2 separate regions of the Homo sapiens genome follow, and region 2 is linked to region 1. The links are contacts of gene promoters, found by promoter capture Hi-C in human tissues and cell types (Jung and others, 2019). All regions are on one chromosome and are shown on one strand. Each heading gives the region's core, a stretch centred on a gene start or on the middle of the fragment in contact. The rest is flanking DNA. Distances are from core to core; before and after follow the strand shown. Region 1 holds the start of SPECC1 (sperm antigen with calponin homology and coiled-coil domains 1). Region 2 overlaps ULK2 (unc-51 like autophagy activating kinase 2).

What was found. Contacts are between HindIII fragments. The study calls those that stand out against the background at their distance.
Region 2: a fragment that was not itself captured here is called in contact with the fragment with the promoter of SPECC1 in region 1 in 2 of the 25 tissues and cell types used here (mesendoderm cells and pancreas).

What each region holds. Positions count from the first base shown.
Region 1 is chr17:20,006,011-20,011,716 of GRCh38, forward strand. It overlaps SPECC1 (sperm antigen with calponin homology and coiled-coil domains 1), which reads left to right and starts at 3,349. Exons shown (of 15, transcript NM_001243439.2): 1 at 3,349-3,414. SPECC1-DT (SPECC1 divergent transcript) reads right to left here and starts at 3,250. Exons shown (of 1, transcript NR_186461.1): 1 at 2,045-3,250. RefSeq lists an enhancer at 2,151-2,718 and silencers at 3,151-3,820, 3,841-4,020. The HindIII fragment of the contact is 29,689 bases long and covers 1-5,706 here.
Region 2 is chr17:19,854,869-19,860,574 of GRCh38, forward strand. The region is part of intron 3 of ULK2 (unc-51 like autophagy activating kinase 2); the gene reads right to left. Among named protein-coding and RNA genes, the nearest start is that of TRG-CCC3-1, 3.1 kb to the right of the region's middle. The HindIII fragment of the contact is 7,474 bases long and covers 1-5,706 here.

The DNA.
Region 1 (5,706 bases), core at 2,099-4,598:
TTTCATAAGTTATTATTGTTATTTTAAAGAGATAGGTTCTCACTTTCTTGCCCAGACTGGGGTGCAGTGGCACAATCAGAGGTCACTGCAGCCTCAAACTTCTGGGCTCTAGCAATCCTCTTGCCTCAGCCTCCTGAGTAGCTGGGACTATAGGCACACGCCACTACGTCTGGCTAAATTTTAAAATTTTTTGTAGAGACAAGGTCTCACTATGTTGCTCAGGGTGGTCTTGAACTGCTGGCTTCAAGCGATCCTTCTACCTCTTGTCTCCCAAAGTGCTGGGATTACAAACGTGAGCCACCACACTCTGCTCTATAAATTATTCTTAAGAAACTAAAGCAGGATCATAACTTACCACAAAATGGGTTGGGGAAAAAACTATGGCAAAATAACTGTTAATAATACTTCTGAATCTTTTAACTGTAGGAGTGGAACTAAAACAAACGTGGGATTATGGTTACACAGCAGAATGTATGATTTTATAAACCTACTAACGTGGAAATGGTATAATTAACATCTTTTATATCTAGGAATCCAAATATCTCATTCAAAGCTGATTTAAAAATCAAGTGATAAAGATATTTATAAATGTAGTTAATTAAAAAAGCAAATACTAAAGAAGGATAAAATCATTTACATTAGGTGAGGAGAAGAAAAGGGGTAAAGAAAAAAGAGGGAAATTACAATGTCATTTTTATTCAGAATAGGGAGTTAACAGACAGTCTGAAGAAACTGAGGACGATGTGTATTGCGGAGTATGATTATAAGGCAACTCCCTGAATAAAAATACAAACCTTCCAAATTATCAGAAGAAACACAAAACACAATAAACACAAAATATGCAATGCAAGAGTGAAAAAAGGACCAAAAGGGCTATGAAACAGCATAATATAGCTGTCACATGAATAGGGCTCAACTCATCTATGGCAAGATAAAGATTTTCAGATTTAATCACAAAGCAAAACTTAGTGCTCTAATTCAAGGGATTACCTAAAATAAAGGGTTCAGAAAAGACGAAAACAGCAAAGGTTGTTTGGGGTAACAAACAAAATTCAGCAGGATGGTAAAATATCAGACAAAGTTAAATTCAGGGCAAAGTTTGAACACATTAAATGAGACAAGGAAGGTCATTTTATGATGAAGTGGGAAAATTCCCAAGAATATAAGACAAATGAATATTTATGCACAAATAACATGGTACTATTTATAAAGCAGGACTTCAGAGAAATAAGGAGAAATAAAAACACAATAGTAACAAAAGATTCTAATTTACCTTCTTCCGATTACGTTAGATCAAAATACGTCTAAAAAATAAAGGAGAAAAAATATTTTAAAAAGAAGAAGAAAAAAGCTCCAGTATAACCAAAAACATAAACCTAAGAGCTGATTCTTTGAAAAAAAAATACACTTTTAAAAGTTAACAAAATAAAGAAGCAAAAATACACAAAATAAGATATTTGGGAGAAGTTAAAAGATTCACAAAAGACTACTTTCCTCAACTTTATGCAAATACACTTGAACATCTGGAAAAAAAGGATAATTTGTTTTAAGAAATACATGCTTTATCAAAATTAACTCTAGAATAATTTTTAAAATGTAAATAATAAAATTGCCACAGAAGAAACTTTTCTAGCCTTAAAAGATTTACCCTCCCCAAAGAAAGCATCAGGCTGGGAGGAACATTTTTAACTGGGAAATGATCAAACCTCAAAGAATAGATAATTTTAATGCTCCTTAAATTGTTCAGAGTAAAAGGAAAAAGCAAACATGCCCATTTTTTTTTCTTTTTTTTTTTTTGTAGAGATGGGGGGGTCTCACTGTGTTTCCTAGACTGGTCTCGAACTTCTGGCCTCAAGCACTCCTCCTGCCTCGGTTCCAAATTTTTTATGATGTGAGCATAACATTGATTCTGAAACCAAACAACATTAGACATTCAAAAAGAAAATTATTGCCCATCTCATTTTTGCATATCAATGCAAAGCCTGTAAATAAAATATTAGCAAACAGAATCAAGCAGTATATTTAAAAAAAAAAGACAAGTTTATTGCAGGGATAAACTGGGTTTTTATTAGGAATTTATTATAACTAGGACTCATTACTTCAATATGAGGAAATCAGCTGTCACCCGGTTTGCTCGTCCTTACAGACATCTCCCTCCTCTTCCTCTCTTCCTTTCCAGTGAAAATGTCTTCAAGTTTCCTCTACCAAACCAAAACTTCACCCCACTTCTTTTATTCTTTCCTCCTCTCTTCTCAGAACAAAGGGGTTGTTGCTGACCAGCCCAGGGTTTCTTATTTGGGGCCGGATCATTCTTCCTTGTGGGGCAGTCCTGTCCTTCAGGTAGGATGTTGAGGAGCACCCTCGTGTCTACCCACTTAGGCAACAGTAGCAACTCCCGCATCATGACAACCAAAAATGTCTCCAGACCTCCCCAAATGTACGCGGGGCGGCGAGGAGGGGCAACACCGGCCCTGGTCGAGAACCGCTAGCCTAGGCTCGCCCCTCTACCTGGGCGCCACAACTTGCCAGGGTTGGTTATTCTCCCTGGATCCTTTCCTTCCTCCTCATTTGAGCTTCACGCCCTCAAGTATGACCAAAGGTTCTGTCATTCCACTCCTGCAGTTTTCATTAAGGTCTTAGGCCACTTCCATGTCAAGAAACACAGTGGCTCTTTCTAACCCCTGGCCATGAGGCACCCCTGGAGGAGGAGCCGTGAGGGTAGGGAAGATGCTGAGGGGGATGTTGACCTTGCCGACTTCCAGGCGCCTCCGCTGCATCCCGGAGGAGGCGTTGGGCGGTGAGGGTGCAGCGGGGGGGCGGGCCCCGCAGGATGAGGTGTCCGTGTGCGGCTAGCGCCACAGGCAAGACCGGGCTCCTTGCGGGGCGGAGGTGAGGCCGTGAGCATAGCTCTCAAACTGGAGGGCGCCTCAGAATCACTTGACGGGCTTGCGAGAATGTGGACTGCTGGGCCCCACCTTCATGGTTTTAGTGCAGGAAAAACCGAATAGGCTGGGTGGGACGGAGAATCTGCATTTTCTCAAGTTCCCAGATGAGGCTGAAGCTGCTGGTCCGGGCACCACCCTTAGAAAACCTCCAGTGTAGAGTGCGGAAATGGGGTCCACATCTGGCTTGGGACGCCCAAACATCGATTATGTGCGACCAGAGGATGAGCAGATAGGGAGATGAGACACTGAGAGCTGGGAGAGAGGGGGCCCCCGGCCGCCGGCTGAAGGAGGACGGCGCAGGCGGCGGTCCGGGTACTACATCTCCCAGCGAGCCCCGCGCGGCTCGCGCTCGCCCCCTGGCGGCGATGGCTGGAGGCGCCGGCGGAGCGCGGGTCCCTCTCCTGAGCATCAGTGAGCGCCCGGAGCCGTGGCCGCTGGGGGTTGCGGCGGCGCTGAGCCAGCGGGGCCGGTGAGTACTAGCCGCGCCGCCAGCCCGCCCGCCGGCCGGCTCTTTGCGCCTCAGCCGCGTGGTCTGAAGGGATGGGCGGGCGAGCGCGGGGGTCCGGCAGTCCGTCGTGGGGGCACGGGACTGCCTTTCTGGGAAGGCGTGCTGCGTCTTCGCCGCGGGGGCCCCGGTCCCCTCGTCGCGTGTCCTGTCCCCAGCCCAGGAGGGACGTCCTGGCCTGTCCTGCCCGGCCCGGAGCGGTGGGACCGGTGCCGCAGGTGGCAGCGGCAGGTGGCCGCCTCCTCCCCTCCGGGCCCGAGGGTTGTCGCAGGGACCCGGGACTGAGAGCCAGGTGGCTCCCGACAGCTGCGGCCCTGGAGGCGACCCCAGCCCTCGCCGCAGTGGGACAGGTGCGCGGGCACGCCCGGCCCCGGCTCCTGGGTCTCGGGAGCCTCCCGCACCCTCCCTGTTGTGCCTTGGGGGTGCTGCGTGGTGCAGAGGACCGAGAAGCCCTTCGCCCTCGGCGTCCGCCGCGCTCCCGCCCCTTCCTGGCCGGGGTGACAGGGGAAGGGCTAGGGCTGCGCATCCCGGGTCAGCTGGGGCGCCGCGGCGCAGTGCACCTGGAAGGCCCGGGGGCAGCGCGCGGTGCCCGTGGGTTTCCCGGTGGTGCGGACCTGCGGGCGTGCGGAAGTAACGACCTCCTTCCCCAGTGCCCATGCAAGGAAATTAGTGTTATGTGCTTGCTTTTTTTTTTTTTTTTTCCTAAGGAAGTTTGACTCTGAATATCTTATTTTGCTGGAGCTCCATTTGCCAGCACGTAAGTTTATGTAATAAGCGGCATACAGTTCGGAAAAAAATTTTCCTGTGAAAGTGCTCTTCCTTGCCCTCTGCAGGAAGAATTACGCCGAGCTGGTTGGCAGGCTTATCCACCAGCAACTGTAGGAGCTGCAGGCAGCAGATAAAGTGTTTTTTGAGTAAGGGCACAAGTCAGCCCTTCAGGACAATTTTTGTTTTTGGAAGATTCTGTTATCCAGTTCCAAACACCGTGTTATTTCAGTGTTGAAGATGGGGGAGGAGGGAGGAGCACAGGCTTGTCAATCCTAATACCTCAACAGAAATTAGCTTTGCAGGATTAACTCTCCAAGCAAGCGAGTTGAATTTGGTAGCCCAAACTACAGCTGAAGCTGAGCCTCCATACTAAAGCCTGTCTCAGTTTTAATAGTTTTTCGCTTGATTCGTTTGCCTCTTCCAAGTAGGTGATCTTATTGTCTGTTAAACAACAGATGTCTCTCATGTTTTTACTTTTTTCCTTGTCTTCCATAGATTACTCTCGCTGCAGTGTTGACTATTGAGGTTAAATAGGAATCTTTGTCTTGGGCTTGGTTTTAGGGAGCATTCCCTCTGTATCTTCACCGAGTGTATTCTATCACATTAAGTACATTTCTGTTTATGCCTAATTACTAAGAGTTTAAAAAGTCAAGGGTGGGTGTTGGGTTTTTTGCCCAAATGCTTTTGTGTAGCATGCATTGATATGATCATGTAGATTTTCGTCTTAAAATTGTTAACATAAGTGGTGGTCACATTGCTAGATTTTCTTTCTCTAAAACCCTGGGCTAATTTAAAATGCACTTTTGGATTGTTCACATCAATAAGCTAGCATCTTATTTAGGGTTTTGGTATCTGAGTTTGGCATATAGTTTACCCCATTTTTATCTGTGTTCATAACAAGGATCAGGCTGTCCTCTCTGATTAAATTGGGAAACTTTCCATCATTTTCTATGCTCTGGAATAGAAGAATTATCTGTTCCCTCAAGTTTGGCAGAACTTGACTGCAGACTGCCTGGGCTGCTGCTGGTGTTGTTTAGGCAGTTAATATCAGTATTTAATTACCTTTTCATTTTTTTCATGATCATTTATTTTTCTCAGTTTTTCTGTTTCTTCAAAGTAAATTTAATATTTTCTGTTTTCCTAGAAAATCATTAACATTATTGAAATTTAATATATGCTAGCATAATGTTGTATATAGTATTCTGGTGTAAGAAAACAGACTCTTACATATCTGTATGTATCTGTATGTTCTCTTTCTGATACAGTACTTTTTTTGGTACCTTTTCTCTTTTTTTTTGATCAGACTTGCTTAATGATTATTTTATTAATCCTTTCAAAGAACCAGCTTTTATTAACCAGGATTTATTGATTAATTCTATTGATTTTTTATTTTTCTATGACATTAATTTCTGTTTTTTATCTTTCTACTTAATTTGAGTTTATTTTGTTCAAGTTTTAACTGTTTGAATGGAAAACCTGGCTCATTTA
Region 2 (5,706 bases), core at 942-3,441, 150 kb before region 1:
GGCGAGTGGATCACGAGGTCAGGAGTTCAAGACCAGCCTGGCCAAGATGGTGAAACCCCTTCTCTACTAAAAATACAAAAAATTAGCTGGGCTTGGTGGCAGGTGCCTATAACCCCAGCTACTCAGGAGGCTGAGGCAGTAGAATTGCTTGAACCCAGGAAGCAGAGGTTGCAGTGAGCTGAGAGTGCGCCACTGTACTCCAGACTTGGCAAAAGAACAAGATTCCATCTCAAAAAAAAAAAAAAAAGAGGCTAGGCCAGGCGTGGTGGCTCACGCCTGTAATCCCAGCACTTTGGGAGGCCGAGGCGGGTGGATCACAAGGTCAGGAGATCGAGACCATCCTGGCTAACACTGTGAAACCCCGTCTCTACTAAAAATACAAAAAATTAGCCAGGCATGGTGGCGGGCGCCTGTAGTCCCAGCTACGCGGGAGGCTGAGGCAGGAGAATGGCGTGAACCCGGGAGGCAGAGCTTGCAGTGAGCCGAGATCGCGCCACTGCACTCCAGCCTGGGTGACAGAGCGAAACTCCATCTCAAAAAAAAAAAAGAAAAGAAACCCTATCTCTACTAAAAATACAATAATTAGCCGGGTGTGGTAGCAGGTGCCTGTAATCCCAGCTACTGGGTAAGCTAAGGCAGGAGAATCACTTGAATCCGAGAGGCGGAGGTTGTAGTGAGCCGAGACTGTGCCATTGCACTCCAGCCTGGGCAACAGAGCAAGACTCCATCTCAAAAAAAAAAAAAAAAAAAAAGGAAAAAAAGTCTAAAGTAAGACCCCCCCACAAAAATACCAAACAAAATGGGAAAAATATCTCAAAACATGACAAAGAGCTATCAACTCTGATTCCCTCTTGTTTACCTCCTACAGTCCAAGTGCCCAAGTCCTAACAATTCTATCTCCTAAACATCTCACTAATCTGTCCAGGCCTCTGTCTCCATTGATACCAACATTCTTTCTTACCCAGATATAAATAGCTCTTTCTTTTTAATAACGGTATACACTGAGCATGGTGGCACAGGCCTGTAATCACAGCTACTCAGGAGGCAAAGGCAGGAAGATCGCTTGAGCCCAGGAGTTAGAGGCTGCAGTGAGATATGATGGCACCACAGAAGAAATGCACTCCAGCCTGAGTAACAGAGTAAGACCTCATTTCTAAATAAGTATTTAAAAATAAAAATAAATGTACAGTTCAATGTGTTGTGACAAATGTTTACACCTACGTATCTACCCTGCCAATCAAAATACATAACAATTCCATCACCCCAAGAAGTTCTCTCATGCCCCTTTCCTATCACTCCCTGGGACCAAGAGTCAACCTCTGTTCTGATTTCTATCACCCTAGCTTACTTCTGACTCTTCCCAAAATTCACAAAAACAGAATTATACTGTAGCAGTATATGGCATGCTTATTTTTCTCAAAATAATGTTTGAGGCCGGGCGCGGTGGCTCACGCCTGTAATCCCAGCACTTTGGGAGGCCGAGGCAGGCGGGTCACGAGGTCAGGAGATCAAGACCATCCTGGCTAACACAGTGAAACCCCATCTCTACTAAAAATACAAAAAATTAGCCGGGTATGGTGGCAGGTGCCTGTAGTCCCAGCTACTCAGGAGGCTAAGGCAGGAGAATGAGGGGAACCTGGGAGGCAGAGCTTGCAGTGAGCCGAGATCGCGCCACTGCACTCTAGCCTGGGCGACAGAGCGAGACTCCGTCACACACACAAAAAAAAAAAAGTTTGAAATTCACGTTATGACATGTATCGTTTGTTCCTTTTTATATATGTCAATTTGTTCATTGTATTATTTGCTATAAAACGAGTTTTACGGCCGGGTGCAGTGGCTCACGCCTGGAATCCCAGCACTTTGGGTGGCCGAGGCGGGCAGATCACAAGGTCAGGAGATCGAGACCATCCTGGCTAACACGGTGAAACCCCGTCTCTACTAAAAAATACAAAAACAAAATTAGCCAGGCATGGTGGTAGGCGCCTGTAGTCCCAGCTACTCGGGAGGCTGAGGTGGGAGAATAGTGTCAACCCAGGAGGTGGAGCTTGCAGTGAGCCGAGATCGCACCACGGCACTCCAGCCTTGGTGACAAAGCGAGACTCCATCTCCAAAAAAAAAAAAAAAAAAAAAAAAAAAGAGTTTTAAAATTTTTTATAGCCAGGCACGGTGGCTCACACCTGTAATCCCAACACTTTGGGAGGCCAAGACGGGCAGATCACCTGAGGTCGGGAGTTCGAGACCAGGCTGGCCAATACGGCAAAACCTCGTCTCTACCAAAAATACAGACATTAGCCAGGTGTGGTGGCGGGGCGCCTGTAATCCCAGCTACTCAGGAGGCTGAGGCAGGGAGAATTGCTTGAACCTGGGAGGTGGAGGTTGCAGTGGGCCAAGATCACGGCATTGCACTCCAGCCTGGGTGACAGAGTGAGACTCTGTCTCAAAAAAAAAAAAAAAAAAATGTTTTACATGTCCCTACTAGAGCTTCTGATACTACAGCTTCTGAGTTTCTTATCTTGATTTAAAATGTCTTTCCATCCCTTGGATTGTACAGTCATTTAAATATTATTCTGAGACTGTTATTGTTTACTTTATATATTTAAGCTTTTAATTCATTTGGAAATGATTTTGGAAAATGATGAGAATGGTGTTCCAATTCTATTTTTTGTCAGATGTCTCAGTTTTATGAGCACCACCTATTAAATTAATCATCTTTTTCTTGCGATACTAAAAATTACCAAGAGGTAGATATTTAACCAGGCCACTGACAATCACACAGTTATGTATTCCTAAGTGAAAGTACTTATCTCATGCTCAGAGTGCTCTAGGAGATTTATCTTTTGAAAAACAAAAACGGTATCACTCTCCTGCTTTTAAAACTCTTCAATAGCTTTGTACTGTCCTTAAGATAAAGATCAGATCTGGCTCCTGCTAACCTCTCCAGTATCATCTAACACTATGCTCTCGCTCTCATTACTGTACTCCAGACACACTAGCCTTCTTCCAGTTCCTCAAACTCAGTGATCTCTCCTGTCAGTGGTCTTTACAGAAGCCTTCATCTCCTTGGGAAACTTACTTTATTTTCTCCCATTAACCCCCACCTAGCCTTCTCCCACCCATCCCTCAGTCTCTACAGATATCATTTCCCCAGGAAGCCTTCCCTTGTCCCATTTTCCTAGGCCCCATATTGTTCAAACCTCGCCAAGAGCTCTCCCTTACAGCACTTGGCACACTTGGAAATAGTAACTATTGGCCCGGGTGTGGTGGCTCACGCCTGTAATCCCAGCACTTTGGGAAGCCAAGCTGGGCAGGTCGCTTAAGCTCAGAAGTTTGAGACCAGGCTGAGCAACATGGTGAAACTCCATCTCTACAAAAAATAGAAAAATTAGCCAGGCATGGTGGTGCCTGCCTGTAGTCCCAGATACTTTGAAGGCTGAGGTGGGAGGATGGCTTAAGCCCAAAGGGTGGAGGCTGCAGTGAGGTGTGGTCATGCCACCACACTCCAGCCTGGGCAAGAGAGCCAGACCCTGTCTCAAAAAAGAAAAAAAAAAGAAATAGTAACTATTTGCTTAATGTCATCTTCCCTAATATCCTGTAAGAGTTCCACAATGACAAGGACCATTTCTACTTTGTTCACCACTATACGCCTGTACATCTCATTAACCAGCTCAAGAAATACTAGTCACAAATAAACCAGTAAGAAAAATGAACACAACCTATGCATCATAGGACAGCAATGGGAACGTCACAGAAGAAATGTAAAAAGACAAATACAGCAAAAAGATGACTGATACCCTAATGGTTTAAGAAAAAAAAAATACCAGCTGGGCGCAGTGGCTCACATCTGTAATCCCAGAACTTTGGGAGGCCGAAGCAGGTGGACCACTTGAAGTCAGGAGTTCGAGGCCAGCCTAGCCAACATGGTGAAACCCCATTTCTACTAAAAATACAAAAATTAGCCAGTTGTGGTGGTGGGCGCCTGTAATCCCAGCTACTTGGGAGGCTGAGGCAGGAGAACTGCTTGAGCCCAGAAGGCAGAGGTTGCAGTGAGCCAGGATCGTGCCACTGCACTCCAACCTGGGCAACAGAGTGAAACTCCGTCTCAAAAAAAAAGAAAGAAAGAAAGAAAAGTAATAAAATTAGGCTGGGCATGGTGGCTCACGCCTATAATCCCAGCACTTTAGGAAGCCAAGGCAGGAGGATCACTTTAGTCCAGCAGTTCGAGACCAGCCTGGGCAACATAGTGACCTCATCTCTATTAATTAAGTAAATATAATTTAAAAATGTTTTAAAAGATATTTTCCTAGTGTGAGATTATAAAAATTTTTTTTAAAAAGGTCACTACTGGTTAAAAAGAACTAGTATAGGCTGAGTGCGGTGGCTCAGGCCTGTAATCCCAGCACTTTGGGAGGCTGAGGCAGGCGGGTCACCTGAGGTCAGAAGTTCAAGACCAGCCTGGGCAACAAGGTGAAGCTCCATCTCTACTAAAAATACAAAAACAAAATTATCCAGGCGTGGTGGCAGGCACCTGTAATCCCAGCTACTTGGGAGGCTGAGGCAAGAGAATCACTTGAACTCAGGAGGCAGAGGTTGCAGTGAGCTGAGACTGTCGCTGCACTCCCGCCTGGGTAACAGAAAGAATTGGTATAATCTTTTAAAAGATAGCTAATATCTTTGACCAAGCAATTCCACTTCAAGGAATTTATTCTACAGGAACACTATAAAAACACACAAAGATATATGCACACATCTTTCTCTGCAATACTGTTTCCAATAGGGAAAAAATAGGAAACACTCCAAATAGCCATAATTCGGTGGTTTCTTAAGCTACAGGACTCACTCTGTCACCCAAGCTGGAGTACAGTGGCCAGTGGTGCAATCACAGCTCACTGTAACTTCAAGTTCCTGGGCTCAAGCCTTCCTTCCATTTTAGCCTCCCAAGTAGCTGGGATCACAGGTATGCGCCACCACATCTGGCTAACTTTATTTTTTGTAGAAACAGGGTCTCACTATGTTGCACAGGCTGGTCTTGAACTTCTGGCCTCAAGCAATCCTCCAGCTTCAGCTTCCCAAAGCACTGAGTTTATGGTGTGAGCCACCATGCCTGGCTCATAATTGGGTTTTAAGTAAATTATCATTTAGCCCTACAATACTATACTGATTATGAAAAGGTATCTAAGATACATTAAGCTTAATAAAACAAGTTGCATTTCTGTACAAACACTACTAATTCTCTCAAAATGAAAAGCTTTAAAAACTAAGTATAAATGTTTAGAAAATTCTAAAACAAATATACCAAAGAGTGGTTATCCCTGGGAATTGCCATCTCTTTTCTAATTTACCATTCACACAGTATTTGATTAACTGTGGGTATATATTACTTTTGGAATTAGTGGGAAAATGCATTTCTTTTTAAGTGTCATCTAAACTGAAAGCTGATTTTTACAATAGCAAAAGTTCCCAATTTATAAACTTCGGACAGATAACCAAAACTAATGGTCAGTAAAAATGACATTCACTTCAAGTTGATAGTTACTGTATTAATTCCTAAACATACTGTACCCCTTGATGAACAATTTCAATCAATAAAACAAATATAAAGTATTAGGTCAAAACTCTATTTAATAGCCAAATACTTAAGACATTTGATTAATACCTCTTTTTTTTTTTTTTTTTGAGACGGAGTTTCCCTCTTGTTGCCCAGGCTGG